2 separate regions of the Homo sapiens genome follow, and region 2 is linked to region 1. The links are contacts of gene promoters, found by promoter capture Hi-C in blood cells and fetal thymus (Javierre and others, 2016). All regions are on one chromosome and are shown on one strand. Each heading gives the region's core, a stretch centred on a gene start or on the middle of the fragment in contact. The rest is flanking DNA. Distances are from core to core; before and after follow the strand shown.

Evidence for each region. The method cuts DNA at HindIII sites, captures the fragments that hold promoters and counts their contacts. A CHiCAGO score of 5 or more calls a contact.
Region 2: a contact is called between a fragment that was not itself captured here and the fragment with the promoter of ADORA1 in region 1, in 3 of 17 cell types (M1 macrophages, M0 macrophages and M2 macrophages). The highest score is 10.8, in M1 macrophages.

Annotation. Positions count from the first base shown.
Region 1 is chr1:203,124,280-203,130,286 of GRCh38, forward strand. It overlaps ADORA1 (adenosine A1 receptor), which reads left to right and starts at 3,447. Exons shown (of 4, transcript NM_000674.3): 1 at 3,447-3,649; 2 at 3,999-4,153; 3 at 4,506-4,903. The coding sequence starts at 4,563. RefSeq lists an enhancer at 3,171-4,151. The HindIII fragment of the contact is 5,732 bases long and covers 990-6,007 here.
Region 2 is chr1:203,266,469-203,272,475 of GRCh38, forward strand. LOC124904486 (a long non-coding RNA gene) reads right to left here. Exons shown (of 2, transcript XR_007066798.1): 2 at 646-6,007. Among named protein-coding and RNA genes, the nearest start is that of LINC01353, 18 kb to the right of the region's middle. The HindIII fragment of the contact is 1,041 bases long and covers 2,604-3,644 here.

The sequences.
Region 1 (6,007 bases), core at 2,197-4,696:
AGGCAGAGACCCAGGGTGCAAATCTGAGCAGAAGGAGGGTGGTAGAAAAGGAGAGGAAGGGAACTTCCAGGAAGTCACTGCAGGGGCAGACAGGCATGGTTATGGGCCCCTTGGGGGAAGGGCTAAGGGCTTTCCTGACACCCAGAAATCTTTTTGTCCCAAATGCCTGCTCTTATCCAACAGTTCTCCTCCTTGTGCACACACTGGCCAGAGCAATGCTGAAAAAACAAGACAGGGACCAAAATATCCTTCTGCCTGCTGGAAAGGACAGAGAAAAATTCTGAAACCCCCTCCAATCCCCAAGCTCTCCCCACAGGGCTGAGCCAAGCCTTAACAGCCAGTACTCCTTGCCTTCCTTCCTGGGCTCTGGAGGGGTGTGCTGGGATACTTCAGCCTCCTTGGGCAGCCCTTTCTGACCTGAGGAGTATAGCCCAATTTGGAGAGTTCCAGGGAGAAAAGAGCAGGGCTGCTCAGCAAGGTTCCCCTCACCCAGGAGTGCTTCCCCTTCAGCCCTCCCTCTTCCCCACCCACCTCTGCCCACAGTGGGGAGGCTGCAGGTGCAAGGGGCCAGTGGAGAAACCCAGGACAGGGGCTTAGGAAGAAAAGAAGTAGGATCAAGCGGTAAAAGGACCACAGGCGATCTTTACATTTACTGTGGCATTATCTCACCCCCTGAGTCACATGGAAAATAGAAGCTTTGCATTGGGCATCTTGGAGGGCACCTAAACTTGGTACCTGTGGGATTTGGTACCAACATTAGCATCCCTGGCTGTGCAGGGCAGATTTCATAATTTTGCATTCTCTTTCCCTTTCCACCCCCACGCTTCACTGGCCTGGTGCTGCCTACTTGCCTTTTTGATAAAATATCAGTGCTGGACGCTTTCCAAAAGCCAGCTCATTATGTTCTCATAACCATCCTACACCGAGGGGTATTCCTACACTGCTGTTACAGGTGGGGAAACCAAGGCTCAGCTTTTGAAGGCAGGTGAAGCTTGGAGGGTTGCATGGCTGCAGTGTGTGAGGGGACCCTGGTGTGGGGAGGGTCATCTTGTCTAAGGGTCCTGGACACACTGTGAAAGCCAGAGAGTTTTGACTCAGGATACATTCCAGACACCTTGGCTCCATCTGTTCTGCCTACAGCCTCCCTCATTGTCCTTTCCTCGTTATAGATCTGTGACCTTGCCTCTTCCTCTACTCGCCTCCATCACAAACTTCCCCTTCTCTCAGCCCTGCTCTCTGTGCCTCACAGGGGAGCTGGGAGTTAGAAGACTTCCAGGGGGAAGGACCAAGTTCTGTGGTCTCCATCTCAGCCCATCTCTCGCACCTTGGAATGGACTTACCAGCTGTTGGTGTAGGATGGGTAAACTGAGGCCAGGAGAGGAAAAGTGGCCTGCTTGAGGTCACGCAGCCAGTGAGTGGCAGAGTAGAGCCTAGAAGCCAGCTTCCAGCTCTTCTGACTCTCGGTCAAGTGCTCTTTTCACCGCACCAAATGACCCTGCTGCCCAGGAGATCTCAGCACCGACCCTCCTACCTCCGTGTCAAGCCAGAGGACTGAGGAGACCGTGTGCTTCCCCCAAGGCAGCTTTCTGGAATAGACCCTGCCTTGGCCAGTTCTGTTGTCAAATAGGCTGGTCTAATCCCTGAGGCTGGGAACAGGCAGGGGTGGAAGGATGGAGAAGATAAGGGAAGAAGATTTTGGCTTATTTTGCCCAGAACTGAGAAACAAATTACCTACAGGCATTATGCAAATGCATCCACTACATGTCAGCAACCTGTGGTAAGATGAATCGGAGGTGGGAGTGTATGTGTATGGGAGGTGGTGGTGGGTGCTCAGTTGCCCTCCAGAGCTGAAGATGCTGTCAATAGTTAGACAGGGTGACCCCACTCACCCATCCCCGTCCCCAAGCTGGGCCCATCTGGGTCTTCACAGTCTCTTCTGACATCTAGTTGAGTGACCATTGGGAAGCTGAGTGTAAACTGAGAGAGAAAGCCTTGAGCCAAAAATGGCTTAAGTCAAGCAAAGGGTGGAGAGGCAGGGGATGGTCGCAAAGGCCTGCATGTCTGGGTGGCAGGGGGAGTAGGCAGGACGTCAGGTGCTGTTGGGCGTGTTGACAAAGTCAGCAGGGGAAGTGCAAGGGGACGAGGAGGAAGGAGAGTTTACACTTCCTAATTTCTCCAACTAGCTTCTAGGGAAGGAATGTAATTTTGCTGTCTGAGGCACTGATTCCTTGCTCCCCCTAAAGGCAGAAATGGAAGTTATTTTTCCCCACAGAGGGCTTCCCCCTCCTCCTCAGAAGACTCAACTGCCCTTCCTCCCTGCCTCCCAGCTACCCAGGTTCCGGGTCCCACATCATTCCTCACTGTGATTCAGTGCAGCCCCCAATGGGAGCAACGTGCCCACCCTCCTCTGGGCAGAACCCTTTTCCTTGCATTCTGAGATCCAGTGAGGGGGGCAGTACCCCCAGAGGCCAGGTTGGGTTGTGGCTAGCTAACATTGGGGTCCCCAGCCTGACTCTCTTTGCCTTCCTAGAACCCTTGCCCAATACCCACAAACAAGGATTTCTCAGGTTGGGATCTCTGCGAGGCATCCATCCATGTCCAGGGTCTGGTCATTAGTTAATATCAGTGGACTGCCTAAACCGAAACTGGCAGAAGGTGGCCAGGGGAGGGGTCTGGACCCAGTGGAGAGAGTCAGGAGCCTGGGATTCTTATTTTGGTCCTGTTAGGATTTGCCCTGTGACCCTCCGGAAGTCCCTTGCTTCCCTGAGCCTGCTTCTTTATCTGTAACATGAGGGGATTGGACTGGATGCCTTATGGCTTAGCGCTGTGCTATGAAGAGGAAGAAGGAGGAAGGAAAAGGAGCGCAGAGCGGGTTACACTGCCAGGAGATCCTGGGAAGCTAGGTCACTTCCCTGAGCCTCAGCATCCTTATCTGCAAAATAGAAATTGCTAATAGACTAAAAGGCAATTCTGAAAGATGGATGAGAAAGGAATATAATGACTCAGGGTAGAGCCTGCAAAACAATATGGGATGAGAAGATGCAGGGACTGGTTTCATGGAGAGAGCAGGGTTTTAGGATTGGGGGAGGGTGCCAGGGCTACCGACTGCTTTGGGAGATCCCAGAGGGGGCATTCTGAAGTCCTGCAGAAGAGATGCTGTGCCGTGAGGGGTGAGGGGTCGCTGGAGGCCAGACCAGGGCTCCCAGGAGTCCTGCATTGAGAAGGGAGAGAGTGGACACAGGAAGGATGCGCCTCTGTCCAGTCCTGAGGCTGGGCGCACACACCAGGCCCTTCGAAAAGCTCACATTTTTTCCAGCTTTTCTCACCCAGTATCACTTCCTTTGTTAAGAGGAGGGGGTGGGGGAGGAGACGGAGGATGAGGAGGGAGGGGCTGGCGGGTGCCGCCGCCGCCCCCGCCCCCTCCCGGTGTGCGGAGCCCGATTGTCACTCAGCTCCTGCGCCGGGGGCGACAGAGCCGCAGGCGCCCGAGTCGAGTCCCAGCCAGCTACCATCCCTCTGGAGCTTACCGGCCGGCCTTGGCTTCCCCAGGAATCCCTGGAGCTAGCGGCTGCTGAAGGCGTCGAGGTGTGGGGGCACTTGGACAGAACAGTCAGGCAGCCGGGAGCTCTGCCAGCTTTGGTGACCTTGGGTAAGTCTGAGTCTCGGTTCACCCCTGGGGCTCCCCAATGGGGGTGCAGGAGAGGGTTGAAAGAAGAGACCGGAATGCCCCCTTGGGGCAGGCCATGGGCAAGGTTCCCCGACAGAGCTGGAACGGGACCAGAGGACTGCTAAGATCCAGGCACCAGACGGGTCTCAAGTGGGTGGGCGCAGGGCAGGTGCGGGCACGCTGGGGAATAGGGAGAAACGCCCCAGCCTTGTCCTGGGCTCCGTCCCCAGACCCACGTCTGCCACCCCAGTCCCAGGTGCGAAACAGGGGCGCTACCTCTTTAAAAGCGTCCGGGGCTGAGTCTCTGCCGTACCATGTGATTGCTTGAAAGGCCGGGCTGGGAGCGCTGCGGCGGGAGCCGGAGGACTATGAGCTGCCGCGCGTTGTCCAGAGCCCAGCCCAGCCCTACCGCGCGCGGCCCGGAGCTCTGTTCCCTGGAACTTTGGGCACTGCCTCTGGGACCCCTGCCGGCCAGCAGGCAGGATGGTGAGCTCCCTGCATCCTGTTCTGTGCACAGGGGTGGGCAGAGCCAGTCATGGGAGACCCCTCTGTGCGTGTGTCTGTGTGTGCGCGCGCGCTGGGAGCTGCCTCACACCTGATAAAAAAGCCAGTGGAGGAGTGAGCGCTGCTATTTTAAGTTGCTGAATGGAACCTCTGGGAATGATAAAGGGAAGGGACAAAGATTAGGCAGAGAAGGGTCCGGGTGCCCCTCCAGCCTGGGTAGGAGCTGCATGTGACAAGTGGGACACATCACAGGGTACCTGGAGTTCCAGGGCAGCCTGAGCTCCCTGCCCCTCCCAGACGGGTCTCCCCATCCCAGGCTTCCCTGACCACACAGGTGCTTGCCTCGTGCCCCTTGGTGCCCGTCTGCTGATGTGCCCAGCCTGTGCCCGCCATGCCGCCCTCCATCTCAGCTTTCCAGGCCGCCTACATCGGCATCGAGGTGCTCATCGCCCTGGTCTCTGTGCCCGGGAACGTGCTGGTGATCTGGGCGGTGAAGGTGAACCAGGCGCTGCGGGATGCCACCTTCTGCTTCATCGTGTCGCTGGCGGTGGCTGATGTGGCCGTGGGTGCCCTGGTCATCCCCCTCGCCATCCTCATCAACATTGGGCCACAGACCTACTTCCACACCTGCCTCATGGTTGCCTGTCCGGTCCTCATCCTCACCCAGAGCTCCATCCTGGCCCTGCTGGCAATTGCTGTGGACCGCTACCTCCGGGTCAAGATCCCTCTCCGGTGAGTCCACAGCGCCGAAGGTACTCGCAGCACCACATGATGGCTGGCTTGAGGGCCATCTAGAAAGGAAAAAAGGTAGAGCATAAGACCCCAAGTAAGCCAGATGTTCTTTGGGCCATCGTGCTCCAGTCCTCACTCTGCCTTTCCGTGCTCCGCTCTGCAGGGCCAGAGAAACAGGAGGGGGATGGGTGGCTGGAGGACTGTACTGTGAACTTACCAGTGCCCATGACCTCAGAGCTGAAGCTCTTGCAGCCAGGGAACCTGAGGCTGCCTGTCAGGCCTGGGGTGGAGGTGGGAGATTTGGAAGAGCCACTAAGATGGGGTCACAGTGAGTGCTGGGTAGGAATGAGCTGAGCTCTGCCAGTCCCAGGGAAGAGGAAGAGGAAGAGGCAGAGAAGAGAGTTAGGGTGGGGTGGGAACATACTGAGGGTGGCACAACAGGGGCAGGAGTGCTGCTTCTCCAGCCAGACCACGGCAGGCTTCCCAAAGGCACGCTTTGGCTCTCTCATTCACCAGGTATCTCTGTGCTAGCCAGCTGTTCCTTCCAGGGCTTTCCAGCTGAACCCAACAGTCTGATTACCTTTGCCTCACTCCCACTTATGGGACCTCTGTTACAGACAGGAGGAAGGAAAAATGCTGGTGCCTACTTCTCATATTGCTGTTCTGTTGCAAAACCACCTCTTTGCTGGTCACAGTAGAGGTGCTTGTGCTGCTCCCAGGCAGCACTGGGATGGGTGGCCTGCTGGTGCCGTCCTCAGTGTGGGTGTCCAGCCCATGTTGGAGCTCCCTGCCAGGCCACAATCTCATCACCAGGCAGTGCCTTGGGCCACCAAGTGCCAGCGAGTGCCTGGGCATATTGCCAGGGACTGGCCCTGCTGGGACGCTCTTGTGAGGCATGCTTGCCCCCTCTTTGAATTCTTGCCCCCAGTAGATTCCTTTTCTCCTGGGGAGCTCTGGCCATCTCCAGCACCTGCCACCCCCGGCATAGCTTCTCTGGGATGTAGGGCCTCTGACCTCACTTGGCCCCTTGCCCGGGCAGGCCTAGGGACCCATGTTTCTCCCTTTGTGTTACATTTGTGCACATTTAACTTTTCAAAGCCTTTC
Region 2 (6,007 bases), core at 1,874-4,373, 140 kb after region 1:
GCATCCCAAGGCAGAAGAATTTTTCTTAGTACAGAACAAAATGGAGTCTCCTATGTCTACTTCTTTCTACACAGACACAGTAACAATCTGATCTCTCTTTTTCCCCACATTTCCCCCTTTTCTATTCGACAAAACCGCCATCGTCATCATGGCCCATTCTCAATGAGCTGTTGGGTACACCTCCCAGACGGGGTGGCAGCTGAGCAGAGGGGCTCCTCACTTCCCAGACGTGGCGGCCCGGCAGAGGGGCCCCCCACCCCCCAGACGGGGCGGCCGGGCAGAGGAGCCCCCCACCTCCCAGATGGGGCGGCTGCCGGGCGGGGGCGCCCCCCCATCTCCCAGAAGGGGCGGCTGGCCCGGGTAATTTTTTGTATTTTAGTAGAGACGGGGTTTCACCGTGTGGCGTAGGCTGGTCTCGAACTGGTGAGCTGAGGCCATCTGCCCGCCTTGGCCTCCCAAAGTGCTGGGATTACAGGCGTGAGCCACCGCGCCCGGCCTAAATGTCTTAACATCAAGAATAAGGCCATATCGATCAATAAGATACATGCATACTATTTTGCCACCTCTCACTTTTTATTAATAGTATACTCTTTCTTTGCTACCTCCCAGTTTTTGTCAAAGTAAATTGTGATACAAAAACCCCAATTTATAATCATGAAATATTTATTATATTTAATTTTAATAATAATGATTAGTTTCATATTATATTAATTATAATTATTTCGTTCATTTAGTTTTATTGATTTGATTGTTCTTTGCCTTTTCTTTTACATTTTTTCTGTTGAATTATTTATTTTGATTCGTTTCTTAGCTGGCAGGACTATGTCCTCAAGTACTATTTTTCAAAAAGGGCTTATAGAAGAGCTCTCCCATCCTCAGTGGAGTTGGCTAACATCCTGTACCAGTTACCAGTTTATTACTCTCTGGCTCCAAACGTTTCTCCCTTGCCAGCGGGCACAGTGTTAAACTGTGTCAGTAGAGGGCGCTAGAGGACAGAGAGAAGAAGAGACTTCTCTTGCGGTTTCTTTAAGCTTTCCTTCCTACTTGCTTTCGGGACTCTGAACCCCCGGGGTTCTCAGCTCAGTTTCAGGGCACTTCCGCAGGCATCTTCACGGCTAGTTCTGTGGGTGTCCCACTTAGTTTCCCAGTGGCGAGTTCAGCCGCACCGTCTTGGGTGGATTCCTGGTGGAGCCGACTTGACCCAGCCAGTTTCCTGCGAAGTCCCGCATGCGCACTTCCCCGGGGGCAGCTTCCCAGCAAGTTCTGCGTGAGTCCTAGGTGGCTTTGCCATGAGTTCAGCGCATCCCCCAACAGCAACTTCCGGAGGAATTTTGTGGGCACCCCAGCAGGGGGCTTCCAGCCCCTGAGCCGTGGCCTGCCGTTCTCTTCCCCACAATGTTCGCTCTCTTGACTGTGGCCCGGTTCTGTCCAGGGACAACCCAGAGAACTCTTCTGCCCTCAATGGGCTGCAACGCACTTTCTCCAGCAAGGACTGAACCCCAGTCTCGGAGAGCTAGGCTTCTTCACGTTCGTTCTTTCTTTTTGGGTTCTCCCCCACCCCTGCGAGATCATCTAACATTCCTCTTTATTCCCACTGCACCATTAATTTCTATCCTGACTGATTCACAACCCCGAGTTCCGAAGCAAGGGCAAGCTGTGGGGCGCTTCTTGCCGTCTCTACTCAAAACGGAAAAAGCTGGCCAGGCGCGGTGGCTCACGTCTGTAATCCCAGCACTTTGGGAGACTGAGACAGGAGGATCGCTTGAGCCCAGGAGTTCAAGATCAGTCTGGACAACGTAAGGAGACCCTGTCTCTTCAAATATATATATATATATATATATATATATATATACACACACACACACACACATATACATATGTGTATATATACATATATATGTGTGTATATATATACACATATATGTGTGTGTATATATGTATATATGTATATAATTATATATGTATATATGTGTATATATACGTATATAATTATATATACACACATATATGTGTATATATGTAAAATTAGCCAGGCATGGTGGTACGTACCTATGGTCTCAGCTACTCAGGAGGCTGAGGCAGGAGGATCGCCTGAGCCCTGGGGTGTTGAGGCTGTGGTGAGCTGTGATGGTGCCACTGCACTCCAGCCTGGGGCAGGGACTGAGACCCCATCTCAAAAAATAAAAATAAAAAGAATGGAAAGAACCAATGAAATCTTGATGCTATTAACACCTCTGAATATTTCACTGGTTTCTAGAATCCACACAAAACAGGAATCCTACAGAATGATGGCTTGCAGAGGACATTGTAACAGGGCAGTCAAACCAGTTGGAGAAGTGTGCTCTGTCCTATAAAAACGTGCTCCTTCCTGACGTCTACCCCATGTTGGTGGGCCCATGATCTCCTCCTAGACCTCTCAGCTGAAATCAGTCCTGTCCCTGTGTTTGGTGTCCTTCATACCCTCTCGTGGCTGCCTCCCTGCCACGGCCCTGGCTCAGGCCCTGGTCACCTTGCCTAGGGTAGTGGCTTCCCTGGGAATGCCATCTCCACTCAATACTCCTTCTGGTGCTAGAGTGCCCTGCTCAAGGCCTCACCTCCCACGAAGCTTCCTGAACAGCTTAACTCACTGTTTCTTCCTGTTCTGCCCTCTCCTATTATCTGTGCAAATCTGAAGGCACTTTCTGCTCTGTCATGTACCTGATCTTTCCTGCCAGCCTAGACTGCTTTGATGAAAACTGCATCAGATAGCAGAGGAAACACTTATTTGTATGGAAGTGGCGTCCTCTGCTGGTAGAAGTATGTAATGACTGGAACTTTTCCCTAGCTGTGTAAAGGACCCTCACTGCCCAAAGCTGAGACAACCAGTGATACCCAAGGAAACCCAGCTGCCCTTCTCTCTGCCCACCCCAGTCCCTAAGCATGTAAAATTCAATCCACTGACTCACTCACCAGATTTCCACACCTCACTATTACACTAAGATGTTCCTGATGCTCCAGTCTCATGGATAATGGCAATCTTTAACATTAATTGGATATGCACTGTATATGCCAGGCACTGGGCTAATCTCTTCATCTGTATTATATTATTTAACCCTCATAGCAACTTTGTACGGCAGACAAGTGGACCAGATTCCTTAAAAGCAGAGCCTGGGACAGATTTCATGCATATCTTCTTCTGTTGGGGAAGAACCCTCAGAAGAAAGAAAAGGAAGGAGAGTGGGGTGGGGAAGGAGGGAGCCAGGCTGTGGTGTCAGCTGTGGCTGAGCTGCGGCCTGATTTCATGGGGATCCCTGAAGCATGTGCTACACCAGAGTTCATCTTGTCTTGAGGTCGGGGACTGGCCTTTCCTGCCCCTGTGTCAGACAAGCATCGGCTGCAAGCCCCAAGTAAGGCAGCTTCCATTCCCGGGGAAGTCTCTGCAGAGGGAATAACTGTGAACTGTTACCAGCCAAACCTCACAGCAGCCGGTGGGCAGGGATGGAGGGTTGCACCAGACCAGTAAAGGGGATTTGGCTGGGCACTAATAGCAACCATGGTACTGTTATTTCTACTGTACAAATGCAGAATTATAATCTTCCAGGTTTGTAGATACTTTATAGATTTTGAGTGTTTTCATATTCATTACCTCATTCAATGTTACAGTAAGCTTGAGAGGTAGTGATCATGATCCCCACTTTATGAATGAGAGTGAGAAGTGGGAGACTTCCTCAGGATTGTCCAGCCAATAAATACCTTCTCTGTTTATAAATAGCGTCTTCTCAGATACATAGGCAGCTGTATTGGGTCCCAGTCCAACCTCTTCCCTGTGACATTCAGGCTCTGGTCGTTTACCAAGGATCTTACAGCCCTTTTAACTCAAAAGAGCCATGAAGCTGGCAACCTTCCTTGCTGAGACTAGGTACGAGGATACACCTCCTATCAGGTGAGGCCTTACCTTGCCTGCCTGACACTTTGCTGGGCTCAGAATGCTTCTCCAAATTCCCCCATGGAAAGAAGACACCCGGGCACTTCTCACCTGCTCCTGCTTCTGCAGTTCCCTTGGCAGTTTCCTTAGAGGTGTCCCAGCAAGCTAGAGTCTGTCAGAGGACATTGAGGGCCAGGCCAGAGAAGTTTAGAAAGAGTCCCAGGACTACCTGAGCACTGCCTTCACCTGCCACAGGGGTAGCTGTGCAGCCAGTCTTGTGGCAGAGGCTGGGGTTTCCTGGATCTTAGAAGTGTCACCTCTTCCACCCTCTCAGGGCCCTGGACTTTCGCCCTCAAGCTGCCTCTGGATCTAGCAAAGGCCCTGAGCCATCTTTGGAATGGATGAGTTCGAAAAGCTGCATTAGAGTGGCTCCCCTCCTTCAACGCCACCTCATCAGAGTTCTAAGGGATGCTTCACACCTAAGAGCTGATGAGGTACAGCAGGAGCACACAGGGGACCCAGAAACCTCGCATTGTGTTGAGAAACAGCTGACTGACTCAGGTTCAAATCCCCCACTCTATCACAGGGCATCTCAGTTAAGATGAGGTAGAAATGAGAGTAACAGAAAATTCACAACAGCAGCAATTGTGTTGTTATTGAGTGGCCCTTGCCCTCATGGTACAAGGTAGCACCTGCCTACCAAGTAGCAAAACAGAGGGAGGGACAAAGAAGAAGGAGCAGACAGCAGATGCACAACCTGTGTCTTAAGAAAGGTTCCCAGACACTGCTGCATAACGCGTCTACTTACTTCTCTTTGGCCAGAACTCAGTCATGTGACCACGCCTACCCACACAGGAGACTGGGAAATGCAGTCTTCATTCTGGGCAGCCATGTTTCCTGCTACAACTTTTCTTACCCTGATAAAATAGTAGAAAGTTATTGGAGACTAGCAGCTTCTACCACACTAGATTCTGGCCTCGGGCAAGTCTCATGGCCTCTCTAGGCTTGGAGATAATGCTATCTTACAACAAACAATTTGTATTAACTGAAGCCTCCGATGCAAAGGATCTAGCACAGAGCCTGGAATATACTATGCACAACCTCCCCTTCTCTGTTCCTGCCTCCAGATATTCTGAAGTGTGTGGCAGTAGCTCAAGTGCTCTCAAATGTGGCCACAGTTCCTGCAGCCCGTGTCTGAGTGCTTTCTCTATGCAAACTCACAGGATCACCCTGTAACTTCTTACCAGAACTTCTGAACCAGACCTCAGGGTAGTAGAGTAAGTCACAGTGACATTTAAAGAAGAAATAATGCCACTATCACACAAACGATTTACTCCGTGGAGTCCATGCATTATCCCATTCCATTCCTGCACAACCCCAGGCCATAAGAACTATTATCCTGACTGACAGATTTGGAAACTGAGGTTCAGAGAAGTTAAGCAGCTTGCCCAAGGTGACAGATAGTAATTGGCTGAACTGGGATCAGATCCCGGTCTATCTGGCTCCAAGTCCTTGTCCTGTAATCATCATGGTACAGCAGTGAGGGGTTTCCCTGTATGAGGCATCTACTCACTGCCCAGTGATGGGAACTATTGTTAAAAGATCTCAGGCACACAAGAGAATCAGGGAGGAGTGGGCCCATGAAGGAAGCCTTTTCCCAGGTGAGGAGACTTAGCTGAGCTTTGGGGCCTGTGTGAGACACTGACTACAGTTGTTACCAGGCAGGCAACCTAAGAAGACGCCTGGAGCCTGGAGACATGATGGGAGTCATAGCCTTGGACTTGCCTACACACTCCTCATATTGCCCCAGCCTCAAGGGCAGACCGCCAGGACCAGATGGGAGTGGGGACAGCCCTGGCCCCTGGCCAACAGCTCTGAAAAGAAAAAGTTTCTTTGTAAGCTGCAGTAAATCCTTAGGGTTAATTGCAGCCTGAACGTTCATTTCAAAGACCTCACTTCCTGAATCCCAGGAGCATCCAGAAGAATGGCACCAAGGTGGCCCAGCCCAAAAAAGCAAGACACGAACACTGTCTCAACCTGTACGTTCTCAAGGATAAAGAGGGCCCCTACTAGCAAGACAAATGGGTGGCCCCTATGATCCTG